Linked DNA regions of Homo sapiens: region 2 is linked to region 1. Evidence: promoter capture Hi-C in 16 types of primary human blood cells and fetal thymus (Javierre and others, 2016). All regions are on one chromosome and are shown on one strand. The core of a region is centred on a gene start or on the middle of the fragment in contact, and the rest is flanking DNA. Distances in the headings are between cores, read along the strand shown. Region 1 holds the start of AGTRAP (angiotensin II receptor associated protein). Region 2 overlaps MTHFR (methylenetetrahydrofolate reductase).

Region 1 (7,045 bases), core at 687-3,186:
CACCCAGTTAATTTCCAATATCAGATCATGAATAATTTGTTAATATGTCCCACATATTGCCTGAGACTTACTCATACTAAAAAACTGTTCGTTGTTGATCTGAAATTCAAATTCACCTGGATCTCCTGTACACGACCTGACAACCCTGACCCCTCAGGGCCTTCCAGCACTTTGTTGTCTCTGACTGGTAGCGGCTAACACCCTTGGAGACTGGGGTCTCGTTTGCCAAGTCAAGGGGAGGACCAGCCTTTTCATCCTGGGTACCGAAAGCCAGCATAGCTCATACCTGTGGATGCTCTTAGCCTGTCAGGCCCAAAAAGTTGCTCAAAAAAAGCCCCAAAGAGACTAAGCCCTCCCAAAGGACAGAAACAGCCAACGTTAAAGTCAGCCCTAAGCTGGTACCCCAGAAAGGACCTGGCCCTGGAGTCTGATCCCTATGGGTTCAAATCCTGATATTGCCACTTACTCCCCGTGGGACCTTGGCAATTTACCCAGTCTAAGCTGAAGTTTGCTCATCTGTAAAAAGATGACCATATCAGCTTTCTCATAAGGCTGCCTTGATTAAATAACCTGGCACACCACAGAAGCCCATAAATTAGAGCTCTGTCCCTCCCACTGCCCTCACCTGATCCTCTGTCAGCAATTATTTTAAGCAAATCCCTCATCAGAGAAAAGGCAGTTGGTGTTAACCCCACATTGCCTGGAATAGAGTGCATATTGATACCAACAAGCCTCGGCTGCTGTCACGTAAATTTCTTCCCAGCTGAACGTTCCATCCAAGCCCATTCCCTTGCTCCAGCCATGTCTCCCCACCACCTTTGACTGGAAGCTTCAGGAAGGTTTGCTGAAGCAAGTATGATTAAGAAGGGAAACATGCCTATAGCAAGTCATAGCACAGATGTTGTGTAATAATAAAGTGTATTAAGCCATTGTTTTGTAACCATCTATTTCTCAGGTTCCTTTAGTCCCAGACACCAACAGGGAGCTAAATGCTCTGTCATTCATGAGTAAGAGGACATTCCTGGATATTGCCTCAAAGGAGGCTGCACTAAGACCCAAAATGGCCGGTTTGGTCCAAGGTCCACACCTTCCTGACCAAAACTACAGCCCCTAGCCCCTCTAATGCAAATGGAGCCCAGACACGTGGGCGGCGGGGCTGGGCGGGGAGAAAAAGAACAGCCGCTGGCACCCAGACCCGGACTGAGCTCACGGCTCGGGAAATGAAGACACCACAGGAAGCCCTGCAGTGTTTTCCCCAGTGCACAAAGTTGGGGTTTTCTGCTTTTAAGTAATTTCTGTTGGAGTTCGCGCTTCTTGATTATGAAATAAGGGCGCTGGATGTGTAAACTTTATAAAACCAACTGCTTGGGAACATCTGATTTCCTTAACCCGACTTAGCAAACAAGGAGGCTCCTGAAACGGTGCTGGGACCCGGGGGGCAAGCCCAGTCCCTGACCCCGCGCGGGGGAGGTGAGCCGCCTACAAGCCCCTCCCGCGCACCTTCCTCCTCCTCCAGGGGAATTCTGGGCGTGCAGGCAACAGCAATGCTGGGACCGGCGCTGCCCGCTGGGAGGGTCTGAGTCCGGGAGGGGGCGGCCCTTGCCCTCCGCTGCCACCTCCCACGGCCCCTCAGTGTCGCCCTGCTGGCCTGTGCCTGGATCACTCTCCCTGCTGTGGCCTGCCTGCCCATCTCCTTCTTGCGTGGGGTCTGTACCTTCCCTTCCTCCCTACCATCCCTCTTTCCCCAAAACTCCGGTCCTTCCTCCCACCTTCCGGGAAAATGCAAATGTCCCACTTCCTCCCGCAAAGGGGACCCTCCCCCCAGCCCGTCGCCACCTTCAGGTTCACAGCAGGCAGCTCCATCCCGACTCAGGCCGAGGGCACCTGCGCCGCAGCCGCGGGGGGCTCCTAGGCTCCGAACTCGGGGAACAAACTTGCCCGGCCCCGCCCCGCCCCGCCCGTTGCGGCCACTCCAACCCCAGCGCAGCTCAAGACCACGTGAAACGGGCTGGAGCGGGTCACGTGACCGCCGCTTGGTTGCTAGGAGACGGCGTCGGCAGCTCGCGCCTTCAGCCAAGCTCCAGACTCCCGCCACCGCCCAGGCAGTACTTGGGGGCCGCTGGCGAAAGTTGGAGTTTCTGTCGCCCAGGGCGTATCCTGCCTGGCTAATATTCCAGGAAGCGGACTGTTCGGACTGCCTGCAGCCAGGACAACTGGGGGACCGTCCAGGCGCAAAGTGCTGATGTGGCAACAGCTTGTGTCTCATCCTTGGGGGCACCCTCTCTCCTTCCCACTTCCCTGTGTAAATGGGCTATTTAGGCTACCTACCTCATATGATCCTTATGAGGATTAAATGAGCTAACTGCTGTTGTTAAAGAAAACGTTATTGGGACTGTTGTTAAACCAGTACTGTTCAAGACTTGCTGTAGGGTTATTGCCATGGAGTGAGAGTTTGGGCTCAACACCGAATACAACAAGGACCAAGGAGGGATTTATAGCCAGAGCAGAATGAGGGAGCAGGAATGGAAGATTCCTAGGAGGAGACATCAAGGATGGGGGAGTTCTTGCTAACTTAGCAGGACTCTTGCTGAAACTGGTTTATTATGCAGGCTCAGGCCCAGCAAGGACAGGAAGACACAGAGGTCCAAGGCCGAGGCCTAGTCAAGATGAGGACTCAGAGGAGTCTAACTACGGTTTGTTCTAGGAGAGAACAGTGCCCGGCACTTAGTAAATGGGCAGGACACACAAGCTATTGTTATTACCAACACAAGATGAGGCTGGGCGCAGTGGCTCACCCCTGTTATCCCAGCACTTTGGGAGGCCAAGGAGGGTGGATCACCTGAACTCAGTAGTTCGAGACCAGCCTGGCCAACATGGTGAAACCCCGTCTCTACTAAAAATACCAAAATTAGCAGGGCATGGTGGTGTGCACCTGCAGTCCCAGCTACTCAGGAGGCTGAGGCACGAGAATTGCTTGAACCGGGGAGGCTGCAGTGAGCCGAGATCACGCCACTACACTCCAGCCTGGACGACAGGGTGAGACCTTGTCTGGGAAAAACAAACAAACAAAAAGCAACACCTGAGGAGCCAAATTGGTGGGAGCCCACTTTAATCAGCATACCAAAAGTTTTAGAAAACTCTAGCTGAAAAACCATAAGAAATTCCTCCCCCAATTGTACATGAGGAAAGAAAGGGCTGTCTCCTGCCTCACCTGGCACCTCCCTTAAAGATTGTTGACCACCACATCCCCCCACCGCAACAAGAACATTAATCCGCTCTACCTCCAGGTCCCTTCCTAACATCAACTTTCCTTTAGAGAACACCAGCTTTTGTTTAGTGTCACCTAGGTATGGAAACCTTCAGGGTACACCTGAGCACTTGGTCTTATTCCTAGGGTGGGGGAAACCAGGTGGGAACCTACAAAACTGCCTGGGTGAGTCCTTAGATAATACCAAGACCCATAGTCTCTCCAGATGCAAAGAAAGGGTTTCTCTGGATGGATGAGGAGAGTTTTGCAGGGCTGCAGGGCCCATAGGCCTAACTTAATGCCCTCTTAGGAGGCACAGATCCCCCCAGTCTAGGGGTAAATTAGAGACCAGCCAAATGGCTACATCCAGTTTGATTTAGGACTGGTTGCTATTATTATTATTAGTTCATTATTGGTAATTAATTATTGTTATTAGTAAAGTACTTAGAAGAGAGTAATTTCTCAGTAAGCAGTCAATATTAGAATATTATGTTATTATTATCTTTTTTTTTTTTGAGATGGAGTCTGGCTCTGTCACCCAGGCTGGAGTGCAGTGGCGCGATCTCAGCTCACTGCAACCTCCGTCTCCCGGGTTTAAGTGATTCTCCTGCCTCAGCCTCCTGAGTGGCTGAGACTACAGGTGGGTGCCAACATGCCCGGCTGATTTTTGTATTTTTAGTAGCGATAGGGTTTTGCCACGTTGGCCAGGCTGGTCTCAAACTCCTGACCTCAGGTGATCTGCCCGCCTCGGCCTCCCAAAGTGCTGGGATTTCAGGCGTGAGCCACAGTGCGCAGCCTGATCAATTTCCTTCTAAAAAATATTTCCCATACACTCCAGATTCTAGAGGGATTTAATCCAAGCCTTTAGGTATATAATAAAGTTGTGATCACTTTGTAAGGAGAAAATGAAAAACAGGCCGGGCACGGTGGCTCAAGCCTGTAATCCTAACACTTTGGGAGGCTGAGGCCGGTGGATCACTTGAGGTCAGGAGTTCGAGATCATTTTGGCCAACATGATGAAACCCCGTCTCTACTAAAAATACAAAAATTAGCCAGGCATGGGGGTGTGCACCTGTGGTCCCAGCTACTTGGGAGGCTGAGGCAGGAGAATTGCTTGAACCTGGGAGGTGGAGGTTGGAGTGAGCCGAGATCCTGCCACTGCACTCTAGCCTGGGCAACAGAGTGAGATTCCATGTCAAAAAAAAAACAAAAAAACCGCAAAACAACTCCTAGGATTAGAGCTGACATTTACTAAACTGACATTTACAGGACCCTGTAGGGGCGGAAGGGTGTGATACCTTTCCTCACCCATCATAAAGGTCACAGCTGACACTCCTGTAAAAAAAGACTGCTTAACAAGAGAAAAGCATACCAAGTTTAGTTAAGCAAAGCTTCATGTGACATGGGAGGCTTCAGAGATGAAGACTCAAAGGCCCTGGGAAATCTGTCCATTTTTGTGCTTAGTTTCAAGGAAGAATGAACAGCCCTGTAGCAATGCAATTGGATAAAAAGAAAATGAACAAGTCTTGTCCAGATTCTTCTTGGGCTCTCCATGCAGCATTCCTTCCTCCTGGGTATGAGGTAGAACCCCTCTGTAATGAGGTCTTTAAAGAGAGAAGGGAGAGAGCCACCTTTCTAGGTTTTATGGCTACTTTGGAGACACGGGTTCTAGTTTCTGTGACCCACCTTGGAGAAGGAGGATTTTTTTTTTTTTTTTTCTTGAGACAAGGTCTTGCTCTGTTACCCAGGCTGGAGTGCAATGGTGTGATCATGGCTCACTGCAGCCTCAACCTCCTGGGCTCAGGTGATCCTCCCACTTCAGCCTCCTGAATAGCTGGGATTAGAAGCACCTACCACCATGACTGGCTAATTTTTGTATTTTTTTTTATAGAGACAGGGCTTGCCATGTTGCCCAGGCCGGTCTCAAACTCCTGGGCTCAAGCGATCCACCTGCCTCGGCCTCCCAAAGTGCTGGGATTACAGACTTGAGTCACCTCATCCCCTGCCAAAGGAGGAATTCTTGTTCTGTGACTGCCTCACGGGAGAAGGAGGGGCTGGAGACAGGAGGTCAGGAGGGCGTCACAGAGACCTTGCTTTTGAGGCCTCCAGTCTTCTGTAGTTCATAGTACTTAGCATGCCAAAGCACCAGATATTGGGGTGACATTTTCTGAGCCCCAACAGTAGTTGTCGTGTGGCAGACAGTGTGAAAGGGCTTCATAGTGGGCCAGGCACGGTGGCTCACATCTATAATCCCAGCACTTTGGGAGGCCAAGGCGGGTGGAACACCCGAGGTCAGGAGTTCGAGAACGGCCTGGCCAACATGGTGAAACCCTGTCTCTATTAAAAATACAAAAATTAGCCGGGCATGATGGCACATGCCTATAATCCCAGCTACTCGGGAGGCTGAGGCATGAGAATCGCTTGAACCCAGGAGGTAGAGATTGCAGTGAGCCGAGATCCTGCCATTGCACTCTAGCCTGAGAGACTGAGAGACGGAGCGAGACCCTGTCTCAAAAAAAAAAAAAAAAAAAAAGAAAGTTCTTCATAGTAAATGCTCACAACAGAACTATGGCACGCGCTGTTCTTATTCCTGTTTACACTTAGGCAACTGAAATCAACAGAAGTGAAGCCGCTTGCTGCAGGCACAGCACTAATTGCTGCTGGAACTGCGGTGGGACCCAGGAAGCCTGGCTCCAGGACCCTGACGTGTAACCACACAGCAGAAAAATCCGGCCAGGGCTGAAATGAGAAGGATAGAGTGAAGCAAGTAGGAGAAGACAAGGATCGGAAGGCAGCACAAGGCTGGGCCTGTGGAACGTCCCTGTGGCTCAGACACTGACACTGTATTCATCTCCACCAGCTGGGGCCAGAGGCGGAGGGAGGAGAGCACGAGAACACCCAGCTGGCTGGGCGGGCTTGGCAGGCTGGTGGGGTTGGGGGGATGCGGGGAGGTGGGAAGCACGGAGAAACAAAAGAAAGTGAAACTGTCGGTATCCTCAAAGGAACCGGAGTTCCTGCCACGACCTATTCTTGGCTATGGAAGGACATAATAGACCCCCACGTGGCATTCCACAAGGCTTGGGGTCATGTATTGAGTGAGTACAGACACTCCCCAACTTACAATGGTCTGACATGATTTGTCTACTTTCCAACAGTGCGAAAGCGATCTGCGTTCAGTAGAAACCATATTTCCAGTCCCCAGTATAACCGTTCTGTTTTTCACTTGCAGTATAGTGTTCAATAAATTCCATAGGGTTTTCAGCACTTTATTATGAAATAGGCTTGTTTTTCATGATTTTGCACAACTGTAGGCTAATGTAAGTGTTCTGAGCATGTTTAAAGTAGGCTAGACTAAGCTATGATGTTCAGTAGGTTAGGTGTATTAAATGCATTTTATTTTCTTTTTTTGAGACAGGGCCCTCTAGGTGCTCTGTCACCCAGACTGGAGTACAGTGGTGCAACCTTGGCTCACTGCAGCCTCCAACTCCTGGGCTCAAGTGATCCTCCCATCTCAGCCTCCCAAGTAGCTGGTATTACAGGCTCACACCACCATGCCCAGCTAATTTTGCTTTTTTTTTTTTTCTTGAGATGAACTCTCACACTGTCGCCCGGGCTAGTGTGCAGTGGGGCGATCTTGGCTCGCTGCAGCCTGCACCTGCCGGGTTCAAGCAATTCTCCTGCCTCAACCTCCCAAGTAGCTGGGACTACAGCCATGTGCCACCACACCCGGCTAATTTTTGTATTTTTAGTAGAGACGGGGTTTTACTGTGTTGGCCAGGCTGGTCTCAAACTCCTGAC
Region 2 (4,251 bases), core at 1,752-4,251, 60 kb before region 1:
CCATTGGCCACAGCCACAAGACCAGGTTCCCCCAACAGAAATGGGTGGGTTGGACTTCTCTCCCACCCTTGAAGCTGAAGGCTGGCATTGAGCCCTCAGCGTCTCAGACAGCGCTCAGGTATGGCAAGACAGTGTGCACCAGGGACAGGAAGTCCCGGGATTGGCACATTTTCTGGGATGACAGTTTTTTTGCCAATATTCTGGGAGAAATCCTACCATTTTTATATTAAACATGGCTATGTTATGGAGTAGCATCTAAAGTGATATGAACTAAAAAAAAAAGGCCAGGTGCGGTGGCTGAAGCCTATAATCCCAGCACTTTGGGAGGCCAAGGCGGGTGGATCATGAGATCAGGAGTTTGAGACCATCCTGTCCAACATAGTGAAACCCCGTCTCTACTAAAAATACAAAAATTAGCCGGGCATGGTGGCGCGTGCCTGTAGTCCCAGCTACTTGGTAGGCTGAGGCAGGAGAATCGCTTGAACCCAGGAGGCGGAGCTTGCAGTGAGCCGAGATCGCACCAATGCACTGTAGCCTGGGCAACAGAGCCAGACTCCGTCTCAAAAAAAACAAAACAAAAAACCCAAAAAACAAACCACGTGGCTTCAAGAAAATTACATGTTGTGAGTAACTTTGGCCTTGTCCCTAACCCCCGATGGACATGTCCATTCTGTCAACAGGGGTGTTTAGGTGCTAAGTCTGGGAAGCACTGATTAGGAGTCAGAGAACAGACATTTCCAACTGTTAAATTGTCATCGCTTGTATCAGCCATTATATAGTCAGTTACTGGGGGAATATGCACCCGTGATGGGCGTTAGGTGATAATGATTGGAAACTAGTGAAGCTGTGAGCTCACAGTTGCTGAATGGTTTCTTACTTTGCTTATCAAGTGGGTAATGAAGATGAGTGGATTAGAAAACACCAACCTGTTGGGCATGGTAGCTCATGCCTGTAATCCCAGAGCTTTGGGAGACTGAGGCAGGAGATCAAGACCAGCCTGGGCAACACAGTGAGACCGTGTCTCTACAAAAAATAAAAACATTTTAAAAAAGAAAGCCCTCAGCTGTTCATGATAGAAAAATAGAGTAAATAGCAAAATCTATACGTAATCAAATGCTAGATTTGTTCGGTGATATTTAGGTATTGTAGCTATACTTTTCAGCTATTAAAAAGCCTTGTTGTTTCTGAAATTCCTACTGGGAAAATAGCTTTGTTATTGCAAGTGTGAAGCCCCATTGCTTTATCCCCCACTCCCTTACCCCTTGAAACAATAGTTTTTATATTCATTTTTTGATGACTCTGGGTTTCTTAAGAACGGAACTGCCTTATCAGAGCAAAGCAGCTTGGCCTTCCGCCTGGCTCAGAGTCCTGCCCTGGGCTTGGGCTGATGAAACCAGCACTCCATGTAGTTTCATGAAGGCCTATGGTCATCCTGCTTGCCTGACCGAGCAAGGCGGCTAGTAAGTTTAGTCATTGAGGAAAGGGGTCAGAGAGTTCACAGAGCCAGTAAGGAGCCTATGGGACATCTGATCCCACCTCCTAAGCAATTCTGGAATCTTGTCTTCAGCATCCACTGCCCCTGTGTTTTCAGACTCCAGGAGCTCATTGTTTTGTGAGTGGCTTATAGTACTCTAGCCAGCTCTCTGAACCGGATGCTGGTTCTGCCATTAGAAACAACACAGAATATGACTAATAAAGAACTTCACTAGGGGGCTGGGTACAGTGGCTCATGCCTGTAATCTCAGCACTTTGGGAGGCCAAGGTGGGAGGATTGCTTGAGCCCAGAAGTTCCAGACAAACCTGGACAAGATAGCAAGACCCCATCTCTAAAAAATAAATAATTAATTAAAAAAATTTTTTTTAATTAGCCAGATGTGGTGGCTTGCATCTGTAGTCCAAGCTACTCAGGAGACTGAAGTGGGAGATCACTTGTGCCCGGGAGTTCAAGGCTACAGTGAGCCATGATTGTATCACTGCACTCTAGCCTGGGTGACAGAGCAAGACCCTGTCTCTGAAACAAAACAAAACAAACTCACCTATGGTGGATCCTTTTTCCCCAGGACAGACCTTTGGACATTTGAAAGGAGTTTCTGTATTCTTTTCATTCTTTTTTTTTTTTTTTTTTTTGAGACGGAGTTTCGCTCTCGTTGCCCAGGCTAGAGTGCAATGGTACGATCTCGGCTCACTGCAACCTCTGTCTCGTGGGTTCAAGCAATTTTCCTGACTCAGCCTCCTGAGTAGCTATTACAGGCATACACCACCACACCTGGCTAATTTTTGTATTTTTGGTAGAGACGGGGTTTTACCATGTTGGCCAGGCTGGTCTCGAACTCCTGACCTCAGGTCATCCTCCTGCCTTGGCCTCCCAAAGTGCTGGGATTACAGACATGAGCCACCGCACCCTGCCATCCATTATTTTCTTTGAAGAAAACATCACTTTCTTCAGTTCTTCCTTGTGTAACTTGGTTTTTAGCTTTTCACTATCTTGGACCCCTGAGTAATTTCAGTGTTACATTAAAAACAATGTTTAATCCGGTGCCTAGAGAAAAGTCAAGCTTACTACCCCAGATGCTGCCCAGCCAGTGCTAACTGTAGCATTTTCTCTTTTCTATGGCCACCAAGTGCAGGCCTGATTTGCTTGGCTGCTCAAGGCAGGACAGTGTGGGAGTTTGGAGCAATCCACCCCCACTCTTGGAACTGGGCTCTGAGCCACCTCCCCTGAGAGTCATCTCTGGGGTCAGAAGCATATCAGTCATGAGCCCAGCCACTCACTGTTTTAGTTCAGGCTGTGCTGTGCTGTTGGAAGGTGCAAGATCAGAGCCCCCAAAGCAGAGGACTCTCTCTGCCCAGTCCCTGTGGTCTCTTCATCCCTCGCCTTGAACAGGTGGAGGCCAGCCTCTCCTGACTGTCATCCCTATTGGCAGGTTACCCCAAAGGCCACCCCGAAGCAGGGAGCTTTGAGGCTGACCTGAAGCACTTGAAGGAGAAGGTGTCTGCGGGAGCCGATTTCATCATCACGCAGCTTTTCTTTGAGGCTGACACATTCTTCCGCTTTGTGAAGGCATGCACCGACATGGGCATCACTTGCCCCATCGTCCCCGGGATCTTTCCCATCCAGGTGAGGGGCCCAGGAGAGCCCATAAGCTCCCTCCACCCCACTCTCACCGCACCGTCCTCGCACAGGCTGGGGGCTCTGGGTGGAGTGCTGAGTTCGCTGAGTTCTTCCCAGATCTCCTCTCAGGTCCAGAACTTGCACAGCGTTGCTTGGCCACCCCATTTTGGTTACCTCTAATTTTCCCCCCAAAACCCAGCAACAGTGTCTGTTGAGGGGTTTGTTGTACTTTGGCCAACAAGCATCACCAAAAGGGATTCTAATTCTCATTACAAATCCTGCTTAAATCAGTGTTTCCCAAAGGTGGCTGTCATCAGAACCACTTGATAAGCTTTTTCAAAAAGTGGATCTCCAGGTCCCACCCCTGGAGGTTCTCACTCAGTAAATCTGAGGGAGGTCCTCGGAATGTGTGTTTTACTTCTTGAGCTTGGCAGGTGATTCGGATGATCAGTGCAGCATGGGAACAGCTGGGTTAGATGACACCATGTTACCAACAGACACATCTAGGGCTAAAAGGCTGGCTCAACCCAAGGCTGGAATGCTTAGGGCAGCTGCTCTACTCTGTAAAAAGTGGGAAAGCTGGGCATAGTGGCACGTGCCTGTAGTCCCGGCTACTTGAGAAGCTGAGGCAGGAGGATGGCTTGAGCCCTGGCGTTTGAGAGCAGTGAGACTCAGTCTCTAAAAACAGAAAAAAGAGGAGAAAACGGCAGGCCAAGCCCAGGTGTGCTCCTAGAATATGATCGGACTTTCGTGGGTCCCTCTGCCTGACACTGTGGTTGGCATGGATGATGGAAGGGGGAGAAGTATTTAGGGTGGGAGACGGGCTGGCCAGCAGCCGCCACAGCCCCTCATGTCTTGGACAGGGCTACCACTCCCTTCGGCAGCTTGTGAAGCTGTCCAAGCTGGAGGTGCCACAGGAGATCAAGGACGTGATTGAGCCAATCAAAGACAACGATGCTGCCATCCGCAACTATGGCATCGAGCTGGCCGTGAGCCTGTGCCAGGAGCTTCTGGCCAGTGGCTTGGTGCCAGGCCTCCACTTCTACACCCTCAACCGCGAGATGGCTACCACAGAGGTGCTGAAGCGCCTGGGGATGTGGACTGAGGACCCCAGGTGAGGGCAGTGGCCCAGAGATCCC

Evidence for each region. Contacts are between HindIII fragments. The CHiCAGO score rates a contact against its expected background, and 5 or more counts as called.
Region 2: a contact is called between a fragment that was not itself captured here and the fragment with the promoter of AGTRAP in region 1, in 1 of 17 cell types (erythroblasts). The highest score is 5.8, in erythroblasts.

The regions. Positions count from the first base shown.
Region 1 is chr1:11,731,027-11,738,071 of GRCh38, reverse strand. It overlaps AGTRAP (angiotensin II receptor associated protein), which reads right to left and starts at 1,936. Exons shown (of 5, transcript NM_020350.5): 1 at 1,837-1,936. The coding sequence starts at 1,863. RefSeq lists an enhancer at 5,891-5,980. The HindIII fragment of the contact is 3,809 bases long and covers 832-4,640 here.
Region 2 is chr1:11,795,073-11,799,323 of GRCh38, reverse strand. It overlaps MTHFR (methylenetetrahydrofolate reductase), which reads left to right. Exons shown (of 12, transcript NM_005957.5): 5 at 2,925-3,118; 6 at 3,976-4,226. Among named protein-coding and RNA genes, the nearest start is that of MTHFR, 8.8 kb to the left of the region's middle. The HindIII fragment of the contact is 888 bases long and covers 2,558-3,445 here.